Regions from separate parts of the Homo sapiens genome. Here all the other regions are linked to region 1. Evidence: promoter capture Hi-C in 16 types of primary human blood cells and fetal thymus (Javierre and others, 2016). All regions are on one chromosome and are shown on one strand. Each heading gives the region's core, a stretch centred on a gene start or on the middle of the fragment in contact. The rest is flanking DNA. Distances are from core to core; before and after follow the strand shown. Region 1 holds the start of TANGO6 (transport and golgi organization 6 homolog). Region 2 has its middle 19 kb from the start of ZFP90. Region 3 holds the start of ZFP90 (ZFP90 zinc finger protein). Region 4 overlaps DERPC (DERPC proline and glycine rich nuclear protein).

Region 1 (3,683 bases), core at 870-3,369:
TTTTGAATTCAAACTTGATAGAATTTTCAAGGTAGGAGGATAGAAAATATTTTAGTTACCAGTCTCTTCGCTTGATTTCTAACACTGAAACATTTAGGCTGGCGGCGTGAGGGCCTCTACCTGTACTTTTGCACCAAACCCCTCAAGCCTTCCCCACACAGTGCTTTACCCCCGTCTCACTAAATGTTTAACATCTCAAAATACTCTTAAAATTTTTTATTTCCCAAATGAACCTGTGCCCATACACAATGGAGAAAACATTGTCTAATGACAAAACCTGGAAAGGAATACACAAAATAAAAAGAGCACAGTGGCAATTTTGTAGGTGATTTATTTCCCATTCAAAAATATTTTTAAGGCCAGAACCGGTGGCTCACGCCTGCAATTTCAGTATTTTGGAAGGTCGAAATGGGCAAATTGCTTGAGCCCAGGAGTTTGAGACCAGCCTGGGTGACATGGTGAAACGCCATCTCTACAAAAATTAGCCGGGTGTGGTGGCATGCATCTGTAGTCCCAGCTACTTGGGAGGCTGAGGCGGGAGGATCACTTGAGCAGGGGAGGCAGAAGTTGGAGTGAGCCAAGATCACACCACTGCACTTCAGCCCGGGTGACAGTGAGATTCTGTCTCACACACACACACAAGATTTTATTCGGAAGGCTGAGGCAGGAGGATCACTTGAGGCCAGGAGTTTGAGACAAGTCTGGGCAACATAGAGACTCCATCTCTAAAAAAAAATTTTTAGCGTTTTTCCCTCTCAGGCCCTGCATTCCAAAATGACAAAGAAAAGAAGAAACAAGAGTCATGCCAAAAAGGGTAATAGCTATGCGCAGCTTATTCTCGCCCAAGGACCGGACCATTAAGAAGTTTGTCCTTTGGGCCGGGCGCAGTGGCTCACGCCTGTAATCCCAGCACTTTGGGAGGCCCAGGTGGGCAGGTCACTTGAGGTGAGGAGCTCAAGACCAGCCTAGCCAAGAGGGCGAAACCTTGTCTCCACAAAAAATACAAAAATTAGCCGGGCATGCTGGGGCACTCCAGTAATCCCAGCTACTCGGGGGGCTGAGGCCAGATAATTGTTTCAGCCTGGGAGGCAGAGGTTGCAGTGAGCCGAGATCACGCCACTGAACTCCAGCCTAGGCGACAGAGCGAGACCCCATCTCAAAAAATAAAATAAAAATAAAGGTCCTGCCCTCAAAAACATTGTCCTGTGTCTGCGGCATGACTTTCAGACAACATGGTTTTTCAACGTCCCACCAGGATTTATGTAGGTGAAAACCTGTTTCCGATAATCTGAATCTCAAATCCATTCTGTTTTACATATAAAAACAGTTTGGCGGAGGGCATGGTTTTGATAGACCCTGAATTTTCGAGGAATGCATCAACCATGAAAACAGAACACAGATCGAACTTTTACTGGGAACTTTACTAAGTTCACTGAAAAAAAAAATCATATTACCCATAACAACATTTGTAGCTTTACATTCACGATGGATATATATGCGTGTGTACGTCTGTACTTAGGTTTTGTTTGTTTGTTTGTTTTGAGATGGAGTCTCGCTCTGTCGCCCAGGCTGGAGTGCAGTGGTGTGATCTCGGCTCACTGCAACCTCGACCTCCCAGCTTCGAGCGATTCTCCTGCCTCAGCCTCCCGGGTAGCTGGGACTACAGGCGCCCGCCACCACGCCTGGCTAATTTTTGTATGTTTAGTAGAGACGGGGTTTCACCATATCGGACAGGTTGGTCTCAAACTCCTGACCTTGTGATCTGCCCGCCTCGGCCTCCCAGAGTGCTGCGATTACAGGTGTGAGCCACCGCGCCCAGCCTGAATATTGTTTTTCTTATCCATACTTCACTGTAAGCAGATGGAAGCATCTGTCTGCTTCATTATGTCTGCCAGTGTTGAGTACCTGAGTATTTTCATATTGAAATATAGCTTTAATGATACATTACTTCTCTCTTCCTTCTTTACATAGCGGTTAATCATATTGAGCTTCTGAAATTGTGCGCGTGGGCAGATTAGCCATTTTTGGGTTCCCTCTTACCCCCCGGACTAAGCCGGGACGGAAAAAAAATGTGAAGGGGGCGTTCCCGATCGATTTGGCCCCGCCCCATAGTGTGCCCAGAGCCTTCTGCCACACTTAACATGGCGGCGGCGGCGCCCTGCCGAGGCGCCTGAGCGGGTCGCGAGCGTGGTGTTACACTCCAGTCATGGCGGCCCGACAGGCCGTGGGCAGCGGGGCTCAGGAGACATGCGGTCTGGATCGGATTTTGGAGGCATTGAAGCTGCTGCTGAGCCCGGGAGGTGAGAGGACGCATCTCCGCGCCGGGCTGGACCCGGGACTCTCAGGGCCGCCCGGCTTCCGGGGCTGCCCTGCCTTCCGCAGCGTGCGCCCCTTAGGCCCGCCTCGGGACCCTCCGCCCGCTGCTGGGGGCTTTGAGCATTGTCTATGCCCGTCCTCATTACGTTCTTGAGGAAACTGAGGCTCAAGGAGGGCGCGGGATCCGTTGACTGCTGATATTAGCCAACATCTCTTGAGCATTTGCCTTGTGCTGGGCTCTGTCAGGCGGGGCCGTTATTTCATTCAGTGCTTACTGCAGCGCTCTTGGGAGGGGGATATGGACCCAGCTCCAGAGAGGGTAGGGCGCCCGCGACGTAGAAATGTGAGGTCCTAGCCGCGTGAGGGCGCAGGGGCCAGCATGGACCCTTGAGATTTGTACGAAATGCCAAGAAGTCCAGACATCGGAAGCAGTGACGTTTGAAATGGGTTTGGGGAGAGTATTTAGGGGTTACCAGGCGCTTTTAATCTTTGTGGTGCGTGGACAGTTTCTTCCCAGTCTAAAATCTGAAGGGATATTGGGAGTGGTTGAAGCTGCTACTCCTTTTGCGACTGAGGACACCCAAGGCTCACTGAAGAAATTAAGTAACCTGTCCAAGATCACGTGGTCAAATTAGGGGCAGAACACGGACCTAGGCCCGAGATCTACTGAACCCCCTTCTCAGAATCAGACAAATTGTTCAGTATAGGGGCTCTGATGTTATCTGGAGCTTTTGGAAAGGACGTGGAAGATAGAGCTCTGCTTATCACTGGGGTGTATATTTGGGGGAAGGGATGGGAAGGGATCTGTAGAATTAGCAAGGGCACATGAAAGGCCAAAGGGGATCACCTCCCAGTCTCAGATTTTATACTTAAAACTGCAAAAACTTCTGCAAACATTACACCACACCAGCGGGAAGTGAACACAAGTTACTAATATTAGTAAATGAGTGCCTACTAAGTATCAGTCCCCATAGTAGGCTGTTGACATACACATCATTTAATCCTCATTACGATCCCCTGGGATCGGTACTACTTGTATTCAATTTTTACGGATGAAGGACCAAGGTTCAGGTACATTGGAAATTGCCCAATGTCAGACTAGTAAGTGGCAGAATTTGAATTTAGGTTATTTCCACTAAAAGTATGGTAAATATGCTACATTGTCTCAATTAAGAGTCAGACTGCAAAATAGAATTTTAAGTTGCTAATCGAGAGGTCACTTGTCTTCTAACGGCAACTCTTTTTTTTTTTTTTTTTTGAGATGAGGTCTCACTCTGTTGCCCAGGCTGGAGTGCAGTGGCACAATCTCGGCTCACTGCAACCTCTGCCTCCCAGGTTCAAGCGATTCTCCTGCTTCAGCCTCCCGA
Region 2 (3,683 bases), core at 425-2,924, 320 kb before region 1:
ATTTTAATTCACTTTAATTTAATAACATATGACCAAATACCTTTGAGAGAGTGGCAGGGGACAGAACTGGAAATCAGAGAGTGCCAGCCCTGTGAACTGAGGTGTTTCTTATTTGTTTTTTGCAAGAAGCTGTACTTATATTAATTCATTCATTAACCCATTCATTCAGGGCATGAATATTAAAGGCTGAGGATTAATAAAATATACAACTCAGCTTCCCCCCGGCTCACAGGAAATCCTGGCCAGCTAGGAAGACCGACAGATGAACAGAAAGTTGCAATGTAGGGGCCAGGTGCGGTGTCTTATATCTGTAATCCCAACACTTTGGGAGGCCAGTGTGACAGGATGACATGAGGCCAGTTAAAGACCAGCCTGGGCAACAAGCAAGATCCCATCTCTATAAAAAATACAAAAATTAACCGGGCATAGTGGGACACGCCTGTTGTCCTAGCTACGTGGGAGGCTGAGGCAGGAGGATTGGTTGAGCCCAGGAATTCAAGGCTGCAGTGAGTTATGATTTCACCACTGCACCACAGCCTGAGTGACAGAGTGAGGCCCTGTCTCAAAAAAAAAAAAAAAAAAGTTGCAATGTAGGGCCACATCCTGGGCCTAATACCTGGTGTTCAGTAGAAGTTTGTGGAATAAATACAGGATTGAAAGGGTGGTTTTGGGAAGGTGCCAGAAAGAGTGAACATCTAGCTGGGTCTTTTTCTTTTTGAGACGGAGCCTCGCTGTGTCGCCCAGGCTGGAGTGCTATGGCGCAATCTTGCTCACTGCAACCTTGGCTCCTGGGTTCAAGCAATTCTCCTGCCTCTGCCTCCCGAGTAGCTGGGATTATGAGCACCCGCCACCACACCTGGCTAATTTTTGTATTTTTGGTAGAGACGGGGTTTCACCATGTTGGCCAGGTTGGTCTCAAACTCCTGACCTCAAGTGATCCACCCGCCTCAGCCTCCCAAAGTGCTGGGATTACAGGCATAAGCCACTGTGCTCAGCCTTCTAGCTGGGTCTTGAAGGATGAATAAACTCACCAGGAAGGCAAGCAAGTCCAGGGCACATCCAGGGACTGCCTGTGACGAGGAGAAAAGGATCACGTGTAACAAGGAGATGCTGGTTACATTTGCTGGGCTGGGGAAGGTTGCCCAGGGAATGGGGACAGGGTGAGAAGAGGAAAAGGGCAAGGAGGGGCCCTGATGAGGAGTGACACTCAGGAAGGTAGACTCTGAAGAGAAGTCCTCCCCCACCCCTCAAGCCATCACTGAGATCTCTACCCCAGGCCAGCGCCTACTCATCCTTCAAGGCTCAAGCATCACTTCCTCCAGGAAGCCTTTCTGCCCAGCTCAGGCTGTGGTCCTCCCCCTTCCATGTGGTGCTCCCAGCACACTGCGCCACCAACCTTGTGACTGCCCACCTCCAGTCCTGTATTGGGTTGGCTTGTCTGTATGCTTGCCTGTCTCCCAACAGAGGCTGTATGCCCAGTTCTGGTGATGCTGCCCCACCCCATGCACTAGTGGCTCCCTGGATTCCGGCCGGGCTGTGCTGCCTATGGGATTCCATCACACAGATGCACGAGGCCTGTAAGGAAAAGTGGATCCCAAAGCCAGAGTCTGAGTCAAGGGTTGCTGGGGGTGGGGTGTGGACAGGGGGTTGGCCGAGGGAAGGGTATTTTACTCCACATCACATAAGATTTTTACACTCATTGCCAGGCACAGTGGCTCACGCCTGTAATCCCAGCACTTTGGGAGGCCGAGGCAGGTGGATCACTTGAGGTCAGGAGTTCAAGATCAGCCTGGCCAATATGGTGAAACTCCAGCTCTACTAAAAATACAAAAATTAGCCAGGCCTGGTGGTGCACCCCTGTAGCCCAGCTACTCTGGAGGCTGAGGCAGGAGAATCACTTGAACCCGGGAGGCGGAAGTTGCAGTGAGCCAAGATAGTGCCACTGCACTCCAGCCTGGGCGACAGAGCGAGACTCTGTCTCAGAAAAAAATAATAATAAATTGCACTCTCTCTTCTTTGTTTTTTTTTGTTTTGAGACAGAGTCTTTCTGTCGCCCAGGTTGGAGTGCAGTGGCATGATCTCGGCTCACTGCAGCCTCCGCCTCCCAGGTTCAAGCGATTCTCCTGCCTCAGCCTTCCAAGTAACTGGTATTACAGCGCCCACCACTACGCCTGGCTAATTTTTGCATTTTTAGTAGAGACGGGGTTTCATCATGTTGGCCAGGCTGGATAATCCACCCACCTCAGCCTCCCAAATAACTGGTATTACAGCGCCCACCACTACGCCCGGCTAATTTTTGTATTTTTAGTAGAGACGGGGTTTCACCATGGTGGCCAGGCTGGATAATCCACCCACCTCGGCCTCCCAAAGTGCTGGGATTACAGGCGTGAGCCACCGCGCCCGGCCAGACTTTTACACTCTCGAGAGGGACTTTGGAAGTGCCGTGGGTGACAGCCCTTCTGAAGTCCCCAGGACCCTGGCTGGAAGGGATGGGTAATTAGAGCTGTTGTGCCTGGGTGACAAAGCCAGAGAAGCCTGGTCCCTGGAGGAGAAACCGAAATGTCTGGAGAGGTGGGGCGGGTGGCCAGGCTCAGGGTAGAGAGAAGCAATACAGAGGCCAGGTAAGAGAGCCGCCCCCTCTCTGGACAGGGCTGCAGGTGAAATACGCCGCCCGAGGTAAAGGAAAGAACTGCAGGTTCCATAAGTGTCCGCTAGGGGGCTACCGAGGATACACCAGCTGGGTCGCCTTGGTAACCGCGGAGCTGCGAATGTGTTGTCCCCACGCGGTGGCGGGGAGGTACCAAGATCGCCCCAGGCGCGGCGTATCAGACGCTGGGGTGGGGGCGGGGGTCTGTGGCCATCAGCCCCAGGCAGGCCGTGAGCCCAGGCCAAGGTCCAGGCAGAGATGAAGGACCCAGCTTACTTTCACCTTCGTGTTTTCTCACCTCTGCTCAGGTCACACCTTCACTGGTTGAACTGGACTTAGCAGTTGTGGTAGGAAAAATTAAAATGGTGTTTTGGATCAGCCAAAACAGCTCCTGCATTGTACAGATGAAATAGCAACCCAGAGAGGGAAAGTCACTTGGAGATCACACAACAGCAGACCTGGAAACAGAGCGAAGAGAAAGTGGAACAGAATGGAAGAAAGCAAAGCAAATGAGCAAAGCCCAGTCAAGCAATGTGTTCACTTTATTATCATCATCATCATTATTATTATTATTATTATTTTGAGACAGGGTCTCACTCTGTCGCCCAGGCTAGAGTGCTGTGGTGCAATCATAGCTCACTGCAGCCTCAAACCTCGAACTACTGGGCTCAAGCCGTCCTTTCACCTTAGCCTTCCTCCTGTAGCTGAGACCACAGGCTCATGCTACCATGCCCAGCTAATTTTTGTATTTTTTGTAGAGACAGGCTCTTGCTTTGTTGCCCAGGCTGGTCTCGAACTCCTGACTTCATGTGATCCTCCGGACTCAGCTTCCCAAAGTGCTGGGATTAAAGGTTCGAGCCACTTCACTCAGCATTCTATTTTTTAAATTACCACTTTTGAATTTAAATAGTTTTAAGCATAAGCTTTTACCTGGTGAATTTAAGAAGACATAATGCTACAATGTAACTTAAGAATCCCTCCAGCAGATGACAGGCATCTTTTCCTTCCTATACCACATTCTTCCTCCTCCAACTAG
Region 3 (3,683 bases), core at 868-3,367, 300 kb before region 1:
GGAGTGCAGTGGTGCAATCTTGGCTCACTGCAACCCCCACCTCCCAGGTTCAAGCGATTCCCCTGCTACAGCCTCCCAAGTAGCTGTGAGTACAGGCGCACGCCACCACACCCTGCTAATTTTTGTATGTTTAGTAGAGATGGGGTTTTACTATGTTGGCCAGGCTGGTCTCGAACTCCTGACCTCAAGTGATCTGCCCCCCTCAGCCTCCCAAAGTGCTGGGATTACAGGCGTGAGCCACCATGCCCAGCCTGCAGTTGCCTTAAGTTGCAGCTACTAAGTCACTTGCCTCAGAGAGGCCTCCCGGTCCACTCTAATTCATACTTGTGAATTATGCATTCTGCTAATTCCAGACCACTATATTCACAAAGCAGTGATAGAAAGCATTCATTAATTTTTATATATATTTTTTGAGACAGTCTCGCTTTGTCGCCCAGGTCGGAGTGCTGTGGTGAAATCACAGCCCACCACAACCTCTGCTTCCCGGGTTCAAACGATCTTCCCACCTCAGCCTCCCAAGTAGCTGGGACCACAGGCGCACACTATTGCAACCAGTTAATGTTTGTATTTTTTGTAGAGACAGGGTTTTGCCATGTTGCCCAAGCTGGTCTTTTAATTCCTGGGCTCCTCCCTCCTCAGCCTCCCTGTGCTATTGACGTGTTATTTCATTACTTGTTAGCCCCTTGCGCAGGATTTTGTGTTTGGGACAAGCCAACAGTGATGGAAATTTTCTCCCTTTTTTGTTTTGTTTTTTTTGAGATGGAGTTTTGCTGTTGTTGCCCAGGTTGGAGTGCAATGGTGCAATCTCGGCTCACCACAACCTCTGCCTCCCAGATTCAAGCGATTCTCCTGCCTCAGCTTTCTGAGTAGCTGGGATTACAGGCATGCGCCACCAAGCCTGGCTAATTTTGTATTTTTAGTAGAGACGAGCTATCTCCATGTTGGTCAGGCTGGTCTCGAACTCCTGACCTCAGGTGATCCGCCAGCCTCAGCCTCCCAAAGTGCTGGGATCACAGGCTTGAGCCACCGCACCCGGCATAAAGCATTTATTTTTGAATGTTCATATTTTTGATAAAGCAGTGTGACATCAGGAACATTTCGTTGCAGTCATTTTCTACCATGTTGGTATGCAATGCTCTAATGTTAAGAAATCAAGCTGAAATCTAGGAAATGTAGCCTGAATGTCTGTGATATATAAGACATAATTACATAAACGTAATAGCTGTATCTAAAAGTTGACCTATCTTTGTGTTGAAAATTTCCATCGGGCCGGGCGCGGTTGCCCATGCCTGTAATCCCAGCACTTTGGGAGGCCGAGGCGAGTTCGAGACCAGCATGACCAACATGGAGAAAACCTGTCTCTACTAAATATACAAAATTAGACGGGCCTGGTGACGCATCGCATGCCTGTAATCCCAGCTACTCGGGAGGCTGAGGCGGGAGAATCGCTTGAACCCAGGAGGCGGAGGCTGCGGTGAGCCAAAATCGCGCCATTGCACTCCAACCTAGGCAACAAGAGCGAAACTGTGTCTCAAAAAAAAAAAAGAAAATTTCCATCATTGTTTGCTTGTCCCAAACAAAATCCTGCGTAAGGGGATACGAAGTAATGAAATAACACGGCAGTAGATCTGCCTTTGCACATTGCTCAGGAGGCCACGGATTTGTCCGAAGTTTCTTTTTTCTCTAAAATGAGAAATGGAAAATTGCCTTTTGAAGAAGATGTAAATGCCCCACCCTCTGACGCTGTCTCACTCCCTTCCTGTGTCACTCTTACCGCTGAAGTCAGGACCTGACATTATCTTGTTGACATGTTTGCGTTTTTATCGTCAGCCTCGTCGAAAGGGGCGTACGATTGCTCCCCGAAACCAGGGTCTTTCCCGGCCGATTCCCCAGCTAGCAACAAGCCCCTTGCAAAGAGGAGGCGGACAGTGACTGGAATACAGGGACACGCACACTCGAGCCACACTGGCCGCCTCCCTCGGCCCTCGCAAGGGTCCCTAACGCGCCTTCGGAAGCCGCCTAGGCGGGGCCTGCGCGCGCGGGCCTCTGGGAAGTGTAGTTCGCGCGCCCGGCGTGGACCCGGGGTTGCAGGAGCGAGGCTCCGAGTGCGCAGGCGCACTTCCAGTTCTGCCCCACCGCTGCGGCCATTGTCCGACCCCGGTGCGGCTGAGGCCCCTTTGGGCAGCCCCTCCGCAGATCAGAATTGGAGATAACCGAGGCTTCGGCGGGGGCGGGAGGAGCTGCCCGAGGCTCTGGGTGGGCCGGAGGTCGCGAAATCCGGAGCCCCCCAGAGGCGGTGATTCTGAGTGCGCGGGTCTGGGCGGGACCCCTCCTGGGTTTGGCGGGTGTCAGCCGGGCCTCGCCCACCACCCTGCGAAGGGGACTGGGCGTGGCCGGAGGGGGGTGTCCGGGAGGCCGCTGAGCCTTTCATTTCGGGGATGGGGAGCGGCAGGCCCGGGCTGGTTCCACGGTCCTCGCCACCATCTCCCCTGGAGATGTGGTTTAGGGGCGGAGGTGGGGCGGGGCGGGGCGGGGTGGGGTCGGTGTTGCAGCGGGGTGAGTGGGCCCTGTCCTTTCTCCCCAGCTCCTGCCCCGGAGCCGGGCCCTGGCGAGGCAGGAATGGCCCCGAGGCCTCCGACCGCCGCGCCCCAGGTGAGCAACGCGTTCCTAACCTCCTGGGCATCCCATCCATCTATCCATCCCATCTCCCAAGGGTGTTTGGAGCAGTCATTGTTCTCTGCCTGGCGACTCCCTTACTTGCTTGGCTCGATCGGAGCCTCCTGGCCATGGAAAACCCCAGGCTTTGGGGAGCTGGATTCCCAAAGGGGAGGCTGCTCTGTGGGGTAGAGAGGGCCAGTGTGGTGCGATCTTGTGGGAGGAGTTGAGATTGGATGCGTTGGGAAGTGTCAGTTTTGAGAGTCCTGAATGCCACGCCAGTTTTTTGAACTCTTGTCAATAAGAAATGGAGAGAGTGGGGTCACAGGATGGAACACTGTAGAGGAGGAAGTGACTGTCGGCAAGTGTGGAGAGAGGAGCCCCAGCTTCTGACCCAGGGCCCATAGAGAGTCCGTAAGGGGCCGTAGAAGCCTGGTTAGAACATGTCTAGGAAGAGGCTGGAGATGGGCTTTCTTGGGCAAGGAGGCAAAAACAAAACAAAATAAAAAACAACCAAAAATAAAACCAGGGCTGATTCTCCCAGAGCTTTTTGTGTCTGTCCTTTTCTGCTTTAACAAAAATGTAATAGAGCAACTCACTCCCCACCGCCAGAAGTCCAGCCTTCACCTTAATGTGAGGCTGATTCGTGAACCCATTTATTCTTGTGGCAGAGGGGGCATTTTCTAGAAGCGTCACAACTCTAAGGTTATCCATTGATTTACATATTGGTGAAAATACATCAAGATCCAGATGGTATCTGTATCTTTGAATCTACATTCTCTTTAGAATTAAGGGAAAATGACAGATTGTAGTTGCTAGGTGTGTGAGACATCAAGATCAATTCAAATAAAAATACCAAGTTGCCAGGTACAGTGGGTCACACCTGTAAGTCCAGCACTTTGGGAAGCTGAGGCAATAGGATCGTTTAAGCCCAGGAATTTGAGACCAGCCTGGGCAACATAGTGAGACTCCGTCTCTGCAAAAAAAAAAAAAAAAAAAAAATTTAAAAGATAAAAACACCAACTTAG
Region 4 (3,683 bases), core at 793-3,292, 290 kb after region 1:
TCCCCTTGAGAGTAGACAGAGTGAGTAGAAAAAAGAGGTGGGGAAGAAGTACAATACAAATAAATCCCTATTAGAAATCACAAGCATAACAATGGAAATTATCTGTATAAGAAGAATATGTCTAAGTCTTCAGTCTCAATTCATTCCAGCAACACTGAAAGACGACTAGAGCAATTTCTAGTTGTTTGTTCTAAGATGGGGCTTGTTTAGAAATTGCAGCTCTATCAAGAGCATCTGAAGGCACGATTTGATGAATACGCTATACATGAAGTCAAGAAACTAAAAGAGAGTCAGTGGAAGAGCTCTCCCGGCAACTTTTTTTTTTTTTTTTTTTTTTTTGTGAGACAGTGTCTCCCTCTGTTGCCCAGGCTGGAGTGCAGTGGCTCGATCTCAGCTCATTGCAACCTCTGTCTCCCAGGTTCAAGTGATTCTCCTGCCTCAGCCTCCCAAGTAGCTGGGACTACAGGCGCCCGCCACCACACCCGGCAACTTTTTGTATTTTTAGTAGAGACAGGGTTTCACCATCTTGGCCAGGCTAGTCTCGAACTCCTGACCTCAAGTGATCTGCCCACCTTGGCCTTCCAAAGTGTTGGGATTACAGGCGTGAACCACCGTGCCCGGCCAAATTTCTCTTTCTTCTTTTTTTGAGACAGAGTCTCACTCTGTCACTCAGGCTGGAGTGCAGTGGCGCAATCTCGGCTCACTGCAACCTCCGCTGCCCAGGATCAGGGGATTCTCCTGCCTCAGCCTCCCGAGTAACTGGAATTACAGGCACCTGCCACCGCGCCTTGCTGATTTTTGTATTTTTAGTAGAGATGGGGTTTCACCCTATTAGTCAGGCTGGTCTTGAACTCCTGACCTCATGATCCACCCGCCTCGGCCTCCCAAAGTGCCAGGATTACAGGCGTGAACCACAGCGCCCGGCTAACTATCTCTTAAGAGCAGAGTTCAACCCCAGATTTGGCTAGGACTAACATGTCTTTCGTTAGGAACAATAATTCTAGGTTGACAAGGTTAACTGCAGAGCCAGGGAGAGACTTCTGTGATGTAGCTTTTCAAAAAGATTTAAATTCATTATATTACAGTGTGGTATCAGACTCACAGGCCACAACTCATGTGTAGCCTTGGAAAGATAAGAAGGTATAAAGAAAACCAAACCTTTCCCTGCAATAAATTATGTATCCTGTCCCCAATCTCATGAGGAGGGAAAAAAGTTTTCTACTTGATCTTTATGGGCCTTCACGCAGCTAAATGAACTAAACAATACATAAATTCTGTATTCCTAAGTTAGTCAAACGACTTTATCTCAGTAAAGGAAACTTTTTTCCCCTCAAAAAGGCACCAGCATTCAAAGAATCAATCCTGACCCACAATGGGAACCCTACCCAAAACTAAAAAGCTTTGGCTGTAATCAGACCACTCTAGAATATACCTTATTTAACCAGCATTTGGCTTCTCTCTCTCTTTTGAAATTAGTAACTATTATTATAAAAAACCCGCCAGGCACGGTGGCTCACGTCTATAATCCCAGCACTTTGGGAGCCCAAGGCGGGTAGATCATGAAGTCATGAGTTCGAAATCAGCTTGACCAACATGGTGAAACCCAGTTTCTACGAAAAATACAAAAATTAGCCAGGCATGGTGGCGCTCACCTGTAATCCCAGCTACTCAGGAGGCTGAGGCAGGAAAATCGCTTGATCCTGGGAGGCGGTAGTTACAGTGAGCCGAGACTGTGCCACTGCACTCTAGCCTGGGTGACAGAGCAAGATTCCATCTCAAAAAACAGACAAACTGAAACAAAACAAAAAAAAAACTGGCAAATCAAAGCACCACCATGATTTCTTAAGAAAAGCCCAGGCAGAGGCCGGGTGCGGTGGCTCACACCTGTAATCCCAGCACTTTGGGAGGCCGAGGCGGGCAGATCACGAGGTCAGGAGATCGAGATCATCCTGGATAACACAGTGAAACCCCCTCTCCAGTAAAAATACAAAAAATTAGCCGGGCGTGGTGGCAGGTGCCTGTAGTCCTAGCTACTCAGGAGGCTGAGGCAGGAGAATGGCGTGAACCCAGGAGGCAGAGGTTGCAGTGAGCCGACATCACGCCACTGCACTCCAGCCTAGGCAACAGAGCGAGACTCCGTCACAAAAAAAAAAAAAAAAAAAAAGGAAGAAAAGTAAAGTCCAGGCAGAACATTATTTTTATAATACAAAAGGCTTCATTTCTCACAAGCTAGCCTCGTTCACTTATCTGTATCCTCTTATTTCACCCTGACACCCTATGCTTTTAGCAAGGTCTTCTCACTCCCATTTCACAAATGAGGAAACAGGCTTAGAGGAGCTAAATGTTAACTGGTCACACAGCTACTTAAGTGGAGAGCTGGGATATGAACCCTAACCCCTCCACAATCTGGCCCCTCTTGCAGTTCTCCTCACACAGCCCCCTCCTGTAAAGCACCTCTGTATGATAACTTCCCTTGCTTTACAAATATTAGCCTCGTTCTCACAGCATCTCTTACAAAATGGCAAAGTAACCTATGGAAAGACCTTGTAACTTGCCACCAAAGTATTATATCTGTGGGGTAGGCAGCTAAAAACAAAGAAGCAGCTTGCTTTTTATCATACCCAATTGAGATGTTTCAGTTTTTGAAACTTTTAGAAAAATCTACTCAATGCCACCTCTAGGACGCAAAGCTTTACCCTCTGCTCCTGAATGTGAAAGTCAAGAGAATAGAGGACATTCTTTGTCAAGTATTCATTTTAATCTTCCACAGAATTTAATTCTTACCCTCTGGTCTCTGAATTGTTAAATATTAAATTGTTAAAAGATTACTGTCTTACAGAGAACAGAACAGCCTGAGCAATGATCCTCATAATCCTTCAAAATAAAATGTGGCAGAAGAAAGTGTGATATGTATCCAATTAAACCGAACATATGGCTTATAGCAAAAAAGAGGCTTTGACTCAACGGTTTAACCTCAATACAAATAACTAAATTTTAATAAAGCTAAACAACGTTTTAGAAATTTTGTTTTTTTTTCAAACAGGAAACCAAGCCTTTAAATTCTCAACCCTTAAACATTCTTTTCTAAACTGGGGTGAAATCAATTATTTCAGAGTGTAAATATTCACAATTTTCTATTTTTTGCTAGGCCAACAGTTGGCATTTATTGAGCTTTTGTTTTTTGATCCCAGGGTGGATACTTTGTTTACGAATATAGTGAAGCACTCACTTGTCATACAGACCTGGATTCTGTGATTTTGCCACCTATCCCATATGTGACAGTGGGTAGTTTAACCTCACGTGTTTTCCTAACAATACACTGGGCATAAACACCTATTTTGAAAGGCTGTTGCAAGAACGAGTAATGAATGTAAAGCTTTTAGCACATTGTCTGACACATGGTAAGCCTTCAGGGTCAAGCTATCGATTTCCCAGAGAAAGGTGGCATTTTCTTAGTATTCATCAAATAGAATGTCTTAATACTACACTGTGTTAGCATATTAATGTTTATAACGGACTAAAGCATTCTACGAAAGCAGCAGGTCATCAGAATAAAATCAAGTTTTCATAACAGTAGAATTCAAACATGGCAGTTGTGGTTCACCAAACTGCTTCAGGGATTAAGTTCTGGAAGGTAATTTCTCTAAATATGATGACTATGTCTCTATGTGCCTTTCTACCAA

Evidence for each region. The method cuts DNA at HindIII sites, captures the fragments that hold promoters and counts their contacts. A CHiCAGO score of 5 or more calls a contact.
Region 2: a contact is called between a fragment that was not itself captured here and the fragment with the promoter of TANGO6 in region 1, in 10 of 17 cell types (megakaryocytes, naive B cells, erythroblasts and 7 more). The highest score is 7.6, in megakaryocytes.
Region 3: the fragment with the promoter of ZFP90 here is called in contact with the fragment with the promoter of TANGO6 in region 1 in 8 of 17 cell types (non-activated CD4 T cells, erythroblasts, M1 macrophages and 5 more); the score reaches 9.8 in non-activated CD4 T cells.
Region 4: a contact is called between a fragment that was not itself captured here and the fragment with the promoter of TANGO6 in region 1, in 5 of 17 cell types (megakaryocytes, activated CD4 T cells, endothelial precursors and 2 more). The highest score is 6.5, in megakaryocytes.

What each region holds. Positions count from the first base shown.
Region 1 is chr16:68,841,412-68,845,094 of GRCh38, forward strand. It overlaps TANGO6 (transport and golgi organization 6 homolog), which reads left to right and starts at 2,120. Exons shown (of 18, transcript NM_024562.2): 1 at 2,120-2,300. The coding sequence starts at 2,207. RefSeq lists an enhancer at 2,091-2,360. The HindIII fragment of the contact is 15,665 bases long and covers 1-3,683 here.
Region 2 is chr16:68,518,079-68,521,761 of GRCh38, forward strand. No RefSeq gene overlaps it. Among named protein-coding and RNA genes, the nearest start is that of ZFP90, 19 kb to the right of the region's middle. RefSeq lists enhancers at 2,797-2,876, 2,897-2,946, 2,987-3,036. The HindIII fragment of the contact is 3,788 bases long and covers 1-3,568 here.
Region 3 is chr16:68,537,174-68,540,856 of GRCh38, forward strand. It overlaps ZFP90 (ZFP90 zinc finger protein), which reads left to right and starts at 2,118. Exons shown (of 5, transcript NM_001305203.2): 1 at 2,118-2,306; 2 at 2,585-2,652. The coding sequence starts at 2,620. The HindIII fragment of the contact is 12,761 bases long and covers 1-3,683 here.
Region 4 is chr16:69,127,287-69,130,969 of GRCh38, forward strand. The region is part of intron 1 of DERPC (DERPC proline and glycine rich nuclear protein); the gene reads right to left. All of the region lies in intron 1 of CHTF8 (chromosome transmission fidelity factor 8), which reads right to left. Among named protein-coding and RNA genes, the nearest start is that of CHTF8, 3.5 kb to the right of the region's middle. The HindIII fragment of the contact is 1,291 bases long and covers 1,398-2,688 here.